Regions from separate parts of the Homo sapiens genome. Here region 1 is linked to region 2. Evidence: promoter capture Hi-C in human tissues and cell types (Jung and others, 2019). All regions are on one chromosome and are shown on one strand. The core of a region is centred on a gene start or on the middle of the fragment in contact, and the rest is flanking DNA. Distances in the headings are between cores, read along the strand shown.

The links. The method cuts DNA at HindIII sites, captures the fragments that hold promoters and counts their contacts. A contact is called where the count stands out against the background at its distance.
Region 1: a contact is called between a fragment that was not itself captured here and the fragment with the promoter of CCL2 in region 2, in 1 of the 25 tissues and cell types used here (mesendoderm cells).

What each region holds. Positions count from the first base shown.
Region 1 is chr17:33,972,673-33,977,978 of GRCh38, forward strand. The region is part of intron 1 of LOC107985038 (a long non-coding RNA gene); the gene reads right to left. It also overlaps a transcript of ASIC2 not described here. Among named protein-coding and RNA genes, the nearest start is that of LINC01989, 210 kb to the right of the region's middle. RefSeq lists enhancers at 4,791-5,291, 5,292-5,306. The HindIII fragment of the contact is 6,895 bases long and covers 1-4,811 here.
Region 2 is chr17:34,252,299-34,257,577 of GRCh38, forward strand. It overlaps CCL2 (C-C motif chemokine ligand 2), which reads left to right and starts at 2,987. Exons shown (of 3, transcript NM_002982.4): 1 at 2,987-3,127; 2 at 3,924-4,041; 3 at 4,424-4,905. The coding sequence starts at 3,052. The coding sequence ends at 4,529. RefSeq lists enhancers at 1-765, 1,709-2,683, 2,684-3,658. The HindIII fragment of the contact is 9,151 bases long and covers 927-5,279 here.

The DNA of each region.
Region 1 (5,306 bases), core at 114-2,613, 280 kb before region 2:
CACGCCTTACTAAGGATTAGTTTATAAGACTAGCTCCTGCCACATGGCTAATCCTCAAAAAGAGAACACAGAACAGGTCACTTTTGATGAAGAATAAGCGTGTTAACACAAGCTTTAGGTCTCATAACACACTGTGGGGACTTGGGCCCCGTCGCAGACAATGAAAGAGTCCCAGCCAGCCAGCACTGGAGAAAAGGAGACTGCAAATGCAGACAAACCTTGCCAAGCTTCCTCCCTCTCTGGGTCACAGTTTCCTTCTGTGCAAATCAGAGACTGAGACTGAAAGAGGGATGTGCTGACAGAACTAACCCAGGTCAGGTGGTCAGCACCAGAGTTATGCCTAGGGCCAGCCCTGAATGTGGCACACCCACAGTGAGGGAATCTCTACCCAAAGAGGGGATGATCTGAATCTCTGCATCATCTCTTGGGCTTGGCTGCTAGAGTTTCTGGGCTGGAAGCAGGAGCAGAAACCTTCTCCACAGAGACTGAGGTGGAACACACAGAGCTCAGCTCTGAGTTGTAGTCCAAATCCCAGAAGCTACCAAAGGGCCAAGGGTTATTCAGCTGAAGGGATCAGAAGCAGATGCTAGGAGCCAAGGATTTAGGATCTAGGGAGAGCAGCCAGCACAACCCAGTGGAGACATCAACAGAGGGGCTGTGGTTCCTAGCTTCCCATTCAGGTGCAGGCGGAGGCAAGCTGCCATTGTTGGGGGCGGGTGGAGAGGATAGAAGCTGTGCTTAAAGAGCCCTGGCAGAATGGCCAAACCATGCTTCCTCCTGTAGCAATAGGCCCAGACTTGGGCAATTGAGTGCTTTTCTCACTGCCCAGCAGGGCAGGGATGCAAATTCCAGAGTGAAGATTGGGTAGGCAGGAGCGCTCTAACTTTCAATTACAGTGTCACACCAAATGGAACTCCGCAGCTCTCTCTCTACTCTGGGGTGTATTTGACTTTGAATCAAGCGACCTCCTGAACATATAGACACAGAGAGGAGTGGCTTGTTCCTGCTCACTCACCCCACCAGGCTGCCATGGGACATAAGCCACAGCCCATCGTTTACACACAGGCTTATTAAAGCAAATAGGATTTGGCCTAGATTGCAAACAGGTTCTCCTCTGGGTAAGCGTATTTGCTGTGATCCTTGGGGTGTTTCCTGTGGAGCACAGGACACCCAAACAGGGCCTGCTTGGTTGCCCTGGGCCTCAGGGATGCCTTGCCAGTCCCACTCCCCTTACCCCAGGAGAGCTCGAAACATTTGCTTAAGACATCTCCATGCATCATCCTCCCACCTGGTCCAGGGGAAGGAAAGTTCTGATTTTCCACCTTCTACTCTGTCCTCCAAAATTTCCTGCCTTTTTCCGTCCACTAATCCCCATTCACTCAGTCTTCTTCCCGGCTTCAGTTTCTTCAGCTGGGAAATGGGACGATTCTGTGAGATGCTTTCTTAGGTTTTTTTTTTCTCCTCAAACCTCCTGTGCTCTCTGGAAGCTCTGGGAAGTGGAAAGCAGTCTGGCTTGCAAGTCAGGAGCCCTGCAGTCTATTACCAAACTTCCCCTTTCCTGAATAGGTGACCATGAGTAATTCCCTCCCAATTCCCAAGTCTCAGTGTCTTCAGCTACAACGTTAAGGAAGCAGATTTAAAGATCTCTGAGCTCACTTCTCTTTGGTGTCTTACTCCAGCAGCCATTGTGCTTATGTGTGTGTATGTATGTGTGTACAACCTCAGCTGGCTTTGCCTGCCTGGCACCCCAGCCCTATCCCTGGATTTTTCCTTGGGCAGTCACCCTCCATCTGGCGGCATGCAGTCTCAGTGGTGGTATCCATCAAGGTATGCTGCCCGGCAGGTGGACAGGAGACTTAGGCAAGTCCAGCCAGCTTCTCTTTTCCTAGACACTGACCTGAATTGAGTGCTGTTAGGTGATAGGAACCTATCTATCCATCCATCCATCCATCCATCCATCCATCCATCCATCCATAGAGCCCTGCCACAAAGACAGTGCCCATGAATTCCTCCATCCTAGATACTCAGAGGTTCCTGATTCCTCTCTTTTGTGAGGCCACACCTATTTTAGCCTTAGTTCTGATTTTGTGGATTGCCCAGTATCCATCCATTCACATCTGTGTCTAAGTCCTACAAGTCTACTCGAATGTCATCTTTTAAATGATGCCTTCCCTGGTTTCCCTATATAAACTTGCAGCCCCACCCTCATCCCTCAGCTTTTCCTGTCTTCCTCTCCTGCTTCAATTTTCTCCATAGTACTTTATCATGTTTTAACAATTGTATCATCTAATTTACTTATTTATGTGGTGTGTTGGCCATCTCTCCCCACTAGAATGTAAGTTCCCTGAGGCCAGACATTTGTGTCTGCTTTATTCATTGGTATATTGCCAGTGCTCAGGATAGTGTCTGACACGTGGCAGGCACTCACTAAATATTTGTTGAATGAATGAATGTATGAAATCATGCTTGAAAGTTGACCTCAGTTGGTTTTGGCCACTAATCCTAATTGAGACCGTCTCCTGTTCTTCCCTGTGGATCCTTTCTCCCTCCCCAGGATGGAAGCCCCTTTGCTGATATGGGATGGCAAAGCCTGAACAGAAGCAGGGATCAGAGCCCAAATAAAGGGTTGGGCCTCCTGAGGTGGAGGCCCAGTCTAGTCCTCTTCCAGGGGAAGATGGCTCAATCTTCGCCCTCTATCTTCCTCTCTCCCCCTTTCAACCCCTTGTCCTAGACCCACCTCTGCAATCTGAACCACTTTCATTTAAGGAAACCCAAAGTCATGATCTGTTTTCTAGGAAAGTCAGAGCCAAAGACATGAACAGAAAAGAAAAAAAATGCTGACAAGTCTCAGTGGGCCAGGACCTGAAAATCAATTTGACACATCAATTTTTTGGATTTAATAACTCATGCTCCCATGGAATCAAGGTCATAAATAGTAAAGAGAGTTCCAGGCAAGCCTACCAAAATCTGTTTGACTCGGCTGGAGACCTTGATCTCATCTCTCTGTTCTGGTCCCATCAATAATTTCCTCTCCTAGATGCTTCCTCTCTTTGGTTTGGCTCCCACATCATTGCCCTGTCAATGATGTTTGCCTACATTTCTGTCTCTTCCTTCTGTGCACCTCACCTCTTCTTTCCCTGTTCATTGAATGAAGTCATCCCACAAGGCTCTGTTCTTTGCTGTCTGGGCTTCTCAGCCTACATTTAATCCTCAGGAATGTAAGTCTCTCCTTTTACGGTACCATGTTGAAGATTTCCCCAAATTCTTCTCAGTACCCCCAAAATCTCTAATCACTGGATGGCCTCCTCAACTGGAAATCTGGCTTATCCTTTGCCTATCTTCAGACCTCCCCTTTTTAAACTTCTCTGCCCTCAAATTGGATGGACGCTCTTGGATCATCTGCTCGAATGTCACGTTTTCAATGAAGCCTTCCCTGGTCTCCTTATATATTAATACCCCATTTACAGATGATCTTGGATCATTTACAGATCCAAGATCATCTGTAAATGGGGTATTAATCCCTTTCTCAAATAACTGTTGAGTGAGTTTAACAATATGATTCATCTAAAGGTGCTTTGAAATGGTACGAGTGTTACTTGGTCTAATTCAGTCTCAGACTTCTGGTTGTGGAATGCCTGCCCTTTATTTCCATAGTCTCATATAGTGAGTCCAGCTGTACACTCAGGGACTTGTGTCCCCATCTCCACAATAACCTGCCCAGGCCTGACCCCACATTCCAACTCTGGATTTTCATCGTGCATGGACTCCTTGTATGAGCCCAGCCTAGTTTTCCAACTCACCTGTGCTCCACCCTCCCAATTGCTCTCTTCCAACTGGAGAGCCCACGTGGGCCCAAGGAAGGCAGGGAGGAAAGTGACATTGTTGAGCCCTGTGCCCGGTGAAGTACGCATGTGAGCTCATCCAATCTGCAGCCACTCCAGGAGGAGGGCATCATTATCCTCAATAAACAGATGAGCAAACAGAGGCTCATGGAGGGTCAGCGACGTGTCCAAGGTCACTGACTCATCAGAAGGCTACTTTGTTCTCACTCCATCAGGTGGCCCAAGGAGAAAGGTAAGACAGAAAGAGGAAGCCACTAGGACAAACTTGTTCCTGCTGTGATACCCTTAAACATCAAATCATGAGATTAGGTCGTCCTGGGGGTGGGTGTGGGCAGGGGAGGGAAAAGTGGCTATACCGAAGCAAGGATGGAGGGAGGAGGGTGCCTGTGATCAGCCATGCTAATTTTGACATTTTCCTGTGCGTCTGCTTGTCATCATCAACTTATAATTTAACCTCGTTGTGGCGATGCCTCTGGAATGTCAACAAGGCTTGCTGGAATTTCATTACAGCCAGGCAGCTGGCCCCTGGTATTTCTGATACAAATGATGTGCAGCTGCATTCTGGCCCTGCTGTCTTTATCCCCCATCTAGCAAATGGCAGCATTAGGCACACTTAATCCGGAGAGATATTCCCTACACCGAGAAGAGGGCTCGTCAATTCCACCGGGGGCATTTCCTATGGACTGCTCTGCCTGAGCCAATTAAACTAAAGTAATTGCTGAAAAGCAATGGATATTGATGATGGATACAGGGGGCTGACCACAGGGGTAGTTGGAGGGAAAGTGCTGAATAATGAAACCTCCCCATATCTGCACAGCATTTGCCACTTTCAGGGCACCTCTGCCTGCATCGTGGCAGTGGTTCAGTGATCTGTGCTGGGAGGTTGTGGCATTCCCATTTTGCAAAAGTGAACATCAAAGCTCAGAGGAAAAAATGATTTCAAGTTAACCAGAATTAGGAAACAGAAATCTGGGTACACAAAGTGCACGTCTAGATTTCACATTTATCCAACAAATATTTATTGAGCACCTACTGTTAGCCAGGCCTTGTGCTTGTTTGAAGGATACAGTTTTTCTATCCTCGATAACCATGGCATTTTTCTGTAGGATTTTCCTTTCAGGCCCTCTCCTAAGAGAGATCTTTCCCAATCCCCTACATCCTATACCGTTTACTTTCCCCTTCCCTCTGGCCCCAAAGAGAAGGTTTTGATGTCTGTCGATTCTACCTGAGTATACGTAGGTTTCCTTTTCTGTCCCTCCCAACAGAAGCCTCATGACACTGATTGTTCCCAGGGACAGAGAAGGCCTGCCCTGTTACAGGACTCCTGCACCCTGTGAGCAGACTGGAGAGGAATTTGGGGCCAGCGGTCTTGTTGGCCCTGAAAGCACGGTGTCTGCAGCTGCCTGCCTGGCACATGGGTTCAAGCAGCCTTGCCAGCTCATGGCATCATGGTGCAGTATGGAG
Region 2 (5,279 bases), core at 1,737-4,236:
GCAGAGGATCTTAGTGGTGGGGTCAGACCCCGGGAGGAATGAAGAAAGCATTATTCACCAAGAGGAGCTTTTCCATTCTTTATCTATGAGTTGATAGAGAGGAGGCCCCGGGGTAACTGAGGATTCTGGACAGCATCAGAGCATTGACCCTCATTTTCCCCATAGCCCCTCTGGGGGCCTTTCCCTTGTGTGTCCCCAAGCGAGAGTCCAACCCAGGTTTGTGCCAGAGCCTAACCCAGGCTTGTGCCGAGATGTTCCCAGCACAGCCCCATGTGAGAGCTCCCTGGCTCCGGGCCCAGTATCTGGAATGCAGGCTCCAGCCAAATGCATTCTCTTCTACGGGATCTGGGAACTTCCAAAGCTGCCTCCTCAGAGTGGGAATTTCCACTCACTTCTCTCACGCCAGCACTGACCTCCCAGCGGGGGAGGGCATCTTTTCTTGACAGAGCAGAAGTGGGAGGCAGACAGCTATCACTTTCCAGAAGACTTTCTTTTCTGATTCATACCCTTCACCTTCCCTGTGTTTACTGTCTGATATATGCAAAGGCCAAGTCACTTTCCAGAGATGACAACTCCTTCCTGAAGTAGAGACATGCTTCCAACACTCAGAAGCCTATGTGAACACTCAGCCAGCAAAGCTGGGAAGTTTTTCTCTGTGACCATGGGCTAATTGGTCTCCTTCTCTGGATTGTGGCTTTATCAGATAAAAACAAGTGGTCATGCCACAGGATGTCTATAAGCCCATTGATTCTGGGATTCTATGAGTGATGCTGATATGACTAAGCCAGGAGAGACTTATTTAAAGATCTCAGCATCTTTCAGCTTGTTAACCTAGAGAAAACCCGAAGCATGACTGGATTATAAAGGGAAATTGAATGCGGTCCACCAAGTTCATGGTAAAGGATGCACTAACTGATTAGAGAGAGGTTTCCCCTGATATGAGGAAAACTTCTTGGAAGATGAGGTGAGATGGCCTAGGAAGAAATTCCTACACAAAGTTGCACAGTCTCTAGTCCTGGAAACATTTTATTCATTGGATAAGAATGGATTGAGGCATGAGCAGAGGACTGAGACAAACACAGAGAAGTTTCAACACTGGTTGGGGAGAAAAGGAGTAACTAGTGAGATTCAGGCAGAACAAGAATAAGGCTCCTCAAGAGGCACAAGCAAAGCAGGGCTCGAGTTGATTTGTTCTCTCTTCATCCTGCTTTTTGTAATTCCACCAGAGTCTGAAATGGCCACTCCATAGAGTCTCTGCTCTGGGATTCTCCAGGAAACCAATATCCATCATGAGACATCAAGTCTAGTCCCAGGAAGAAGAGATTCTGGAATGGAAACATCCTGGGTGGGAGTCTCAGCACATCTACTATTCTGTCTGAGTTACTGGACAAATAACTTCAGTTTTAACCTAACGAAAGCTGGGTTGGTTGGAGGACTGGGCAGGCAGCGCTGGAAAGTATGTCAGCACCATACCTGACTCCCTGAATGCACTCAACAATGCCATTACTGACCACTTACTAGAAATAAAACAGTCATTTGTTGAATACAACCCGTTTCTTTTTACAAGTGTAGTGAAAAGTGTTTTCTTTCAAGAAACCCCATGCATTTATAGACATTGCCTCAGTGACCCTTTATGAAAGAAGTCACTAGTCTTTGTATGCCCATTGGGCAAGGGCACCGCAAGGCTCAGAAGGAGGAGGCAGTGGGCTAGGAGAATCGAGAGATCAGAATTTTAAACTCAGCCCAGCCATTAACATGCCTCAAGTACTCCTATCATATTTGTAAGAGACAACAGTTCACTGAAATGAATTCTAAGGTCTTTGGGTTTTTATCAGTGTGCTTCTGTAGTTTCTGAGGAAATCTAAGGCACAACTGAGGAATGAAGTCAGGCTTTCCAATTCCCGAAATACTCCTCCACTGCTTACTCATGTCCCTTGGAAATTAAGAAGGAAGCCAGGAGAATAGCTGCCATAACCAGGGATGAACTTCTTGTCCACTGCTGCCTGCTATGCTAGCAACAGCCTCCTAACTCATAATGACTTAGCCATGAGGAATGTTTCTAGATTCTCCTTTAGCTGTCTGCCCATTTGGAAGATGCTGAGGACAGAGAGAGGACCCAAGCAGGCAACTAGTTGGAGGACTTGTACACGTTTCCTTCCAGCAGTATGTCAGAGAGGTGGCAGCCCACTGGGGACAGGGCTGCCTGGGTTCTGTGCTCGAGGGGACCTTGAGCAGGCTATTTAACCCTTCTGTGCCTCAGTTGCCTGATCTATAACATGAAAATTAGCAATCCCTACTAGATAAAGTTGGGGAATTTACAGAGTTAATATTTGTAAAGGTCTGAGAATATTCCTGGCAGAGTAAGCACTCTGTGAGTATGACACTGGCATTTCTTCTGCAGCACTACATGCTGTCTATGCCTTTGTCCAAGTCTGAAACCCTAGAACTCTTAGAATTCAGTTCAATGTTTACACAATCCTACAGTTCTGCTAGGCTTCTATGATGCTACTATTCTGCATTTGAATGAGCAAATGGATTTAATGCATTGTCAGGGAGCCGGCCAAAGCTTGAGAGCTCCTTCCTGGCTGGGAGGCCCCTTGGAATGTGGCCTGAAGGTAAGCTGGCAGCGAGCCTGACATGCTTTCATCTAGTTTCCTCGCTTCCTTCCTTTTCTGCAGTTTTCGCTTCAGAGAAAGCAGAATCCTTAAAAATAACCCTCTTAGTTCACATCTGTGGTCAGTCTGGGCTTAATGGCACCCCATCCTCCCCATTTGCTCATTTGGTCTCAGCAGTGAATGGAAAAAGTGTCTCGTCCTGACCCCCTGCTTCCCTTTCCTACTTCCTGGAAATCCACAGGATGCTGCATTTGCTCAGCAGATTTAACAGCCCACTTATCACTCATGGAAGATCCCTCCTCCTGCTTGACTCCGCCCTCTCTCCCTCTGCCCGCTTTCAATAAGAGGCAGAGACAGCAGCCAGAGGAACCGAGAGGCTGAGACTAACCCAGAAACATCCAATTCTCAAACTGAAGCTCGCACTCTCGCCTCCAGCATGAAAGTCTCTGCCGCCCTTCTGTGCCTGCTGCTCATAGCAGCCACCTTCATTCCCCAAGGGCTCGCTCAGCCAGGTAAGGCCCCCTCTTCTTCTCCTTGAACCACATTGTCTTCTCTCTGAGTTATCATGGACCATCCAAGCAGACGTGGTACCCACAGTCTTGCTTTAACGCTACTTTTCCAAGATAAGGTGACTCAGAAAAGGACAAGGGGTGAGCCCAACCACACAGCTGCTGCTCGGCAGAGCCTGAACTAGAATTCCAGCTGTGAACCCCAAATCCAGCTCCTTCCAGGATTCCAGCTCTGGGAACACACTCAGCGCAGTTACTCCCCCAGCTGCTTCCAGCAGAGTTTGGGGATCAGGGTAATCAAAGAGAGGGTGGGTGTGTAGGCTGTTTCCAGACACGCTGGAGACCCAGAATCTGGTCTGTGCTTCATTCACCTTAGCTTCCAGAGACGGTGACTCTGCAGAGGTAATGAGTATCAGGGAAACTCATGACCAGGCATAGCCTATTCAGAGTCTAAAAGGAGGCTCATAGTGGGGCTCCCCAGCTGATCTTCCCTGGTGCTGATCATCTGGATTATTGGTCCGTCTTAATGACACTTGTAGGCATTATCTAGCTTTAACAGCTCCTCCTTCTCTCTGTCCATTATCAATGTTATATACCCATTTTACAGCATAGGAAACTGAGTCATTGGGTCAAAGATCACATTCTAGCTCTGAGGTATAGGCAGAAGCACTGGGATTTAATGAGCTCTTTGTCTTCTCCTGCCTGCCTTTTGCTTTTTCCTCATGACTCTTTTCTGCTCTTAAGATCAGAATAATCCAGTTCATCCTAAAATGCTTTTTCTTTGTGGTTTATTTTCCAGATGCAATCAATGCCCCAGTCACCTGCTGTTATAACTTCACCAATAGGAAGATCTCAGTGCAGAGGCTCGCGAGCTATAGAAGAATCACCAGCAGCAAGTGTCCCAAAGAAGCTGTGATGTGAGTTCAGCACACCAACCTTCCCTGGCCTGAAGTTCTTCCTTGTGGAGCAAGGGACAAGCCTCATAAACCTAGAGTCAGAGAGTGCACTATTTAACTTAATGTACAAAGGTTCCCAATGGGAAAACTGAGGCACCAAGGGAAAAAGTGAACCCCAACATCACTCTCCACCTGGGTGCCTATTCAGAACACCCCAATTTCTTTAGCTTGAAGTCAGGATGGCTCCACCTGGACACCTATAGGAGCAGTTTGCCCTGGGTTCCCTCCTTCCACCTGCGTTCCTCCTCTAGCTCCCATGGCAGCCCTTTGGTGCAGAATGGGCTGCACTTCTAGACCAAAACTGCAAAGGAACTTCATCTAACTCTGTCCTCCCTCCCCACAGCTTCAAGACCATTGTGGCCAAGGAGATCTGTGCTGACCCCAAGCAGAAGTGGGTTCAGGATTCCATGGACCACCTGGACAAGCAAACCCAAACTCCGAAGACTTGAACACTCACTCCACAACCCAAGAATCTGCAGCTAACTTATTTTCCCCTAGCTTTCCCCAGACACCCTGTTTTATTTTATTATAATGAATTTTGTTTGTTGATGTGAAACATTATGCCTTAAGTAATGTTAATTCTTATTTAAGTTATTGATGTTTTAAGTTTATCTTTCATGGTACTAGTGTTTTTTAGATACAGAGACTTGGGGAAATTGCTTTTCCTCTTGAACCACAGTTCTACCCCTGGGATGTTTTGAGGGTCTTTGCAAGAATCATTAATACAAAGAATTTTTTTTAACATTCCAATGCATTGCTAAAATATTATTGTGGAAATGAATATTTTGTAACTATTACACCAAATAAATATATTTTTGTACAAAACCTGACTTCCAGTGTTTTCTTGAAGGAAATTACAAAGCTGAGAGTATGAGCTTGGTGGTGACAAAGGAACATGATTTCAGAGGGTGGGGCTTACATTTTGAAGGAATGGGAAAGTGGATTGGCCCCGGTCTTCTCCACTGGGTGGTCTCCTCTGAGTCTCCGTAGAAGAATCTTTATGGCAGGCCAGTTAGGCATTAAAGCACCACCCTTCCAGTCTTCAACATAAGCAGCCCAGAGTCCAATGACCCTGGTCACCCATTTAGCAAGAGCCCAACCCCCATTCCTTTTCTCACAGACCCTGACCCCTGCATGCAATTCTTCCCTTAACATATTGCAACTGCCCCCTAACTGGGCTACCCACCCCCCAATCTGTA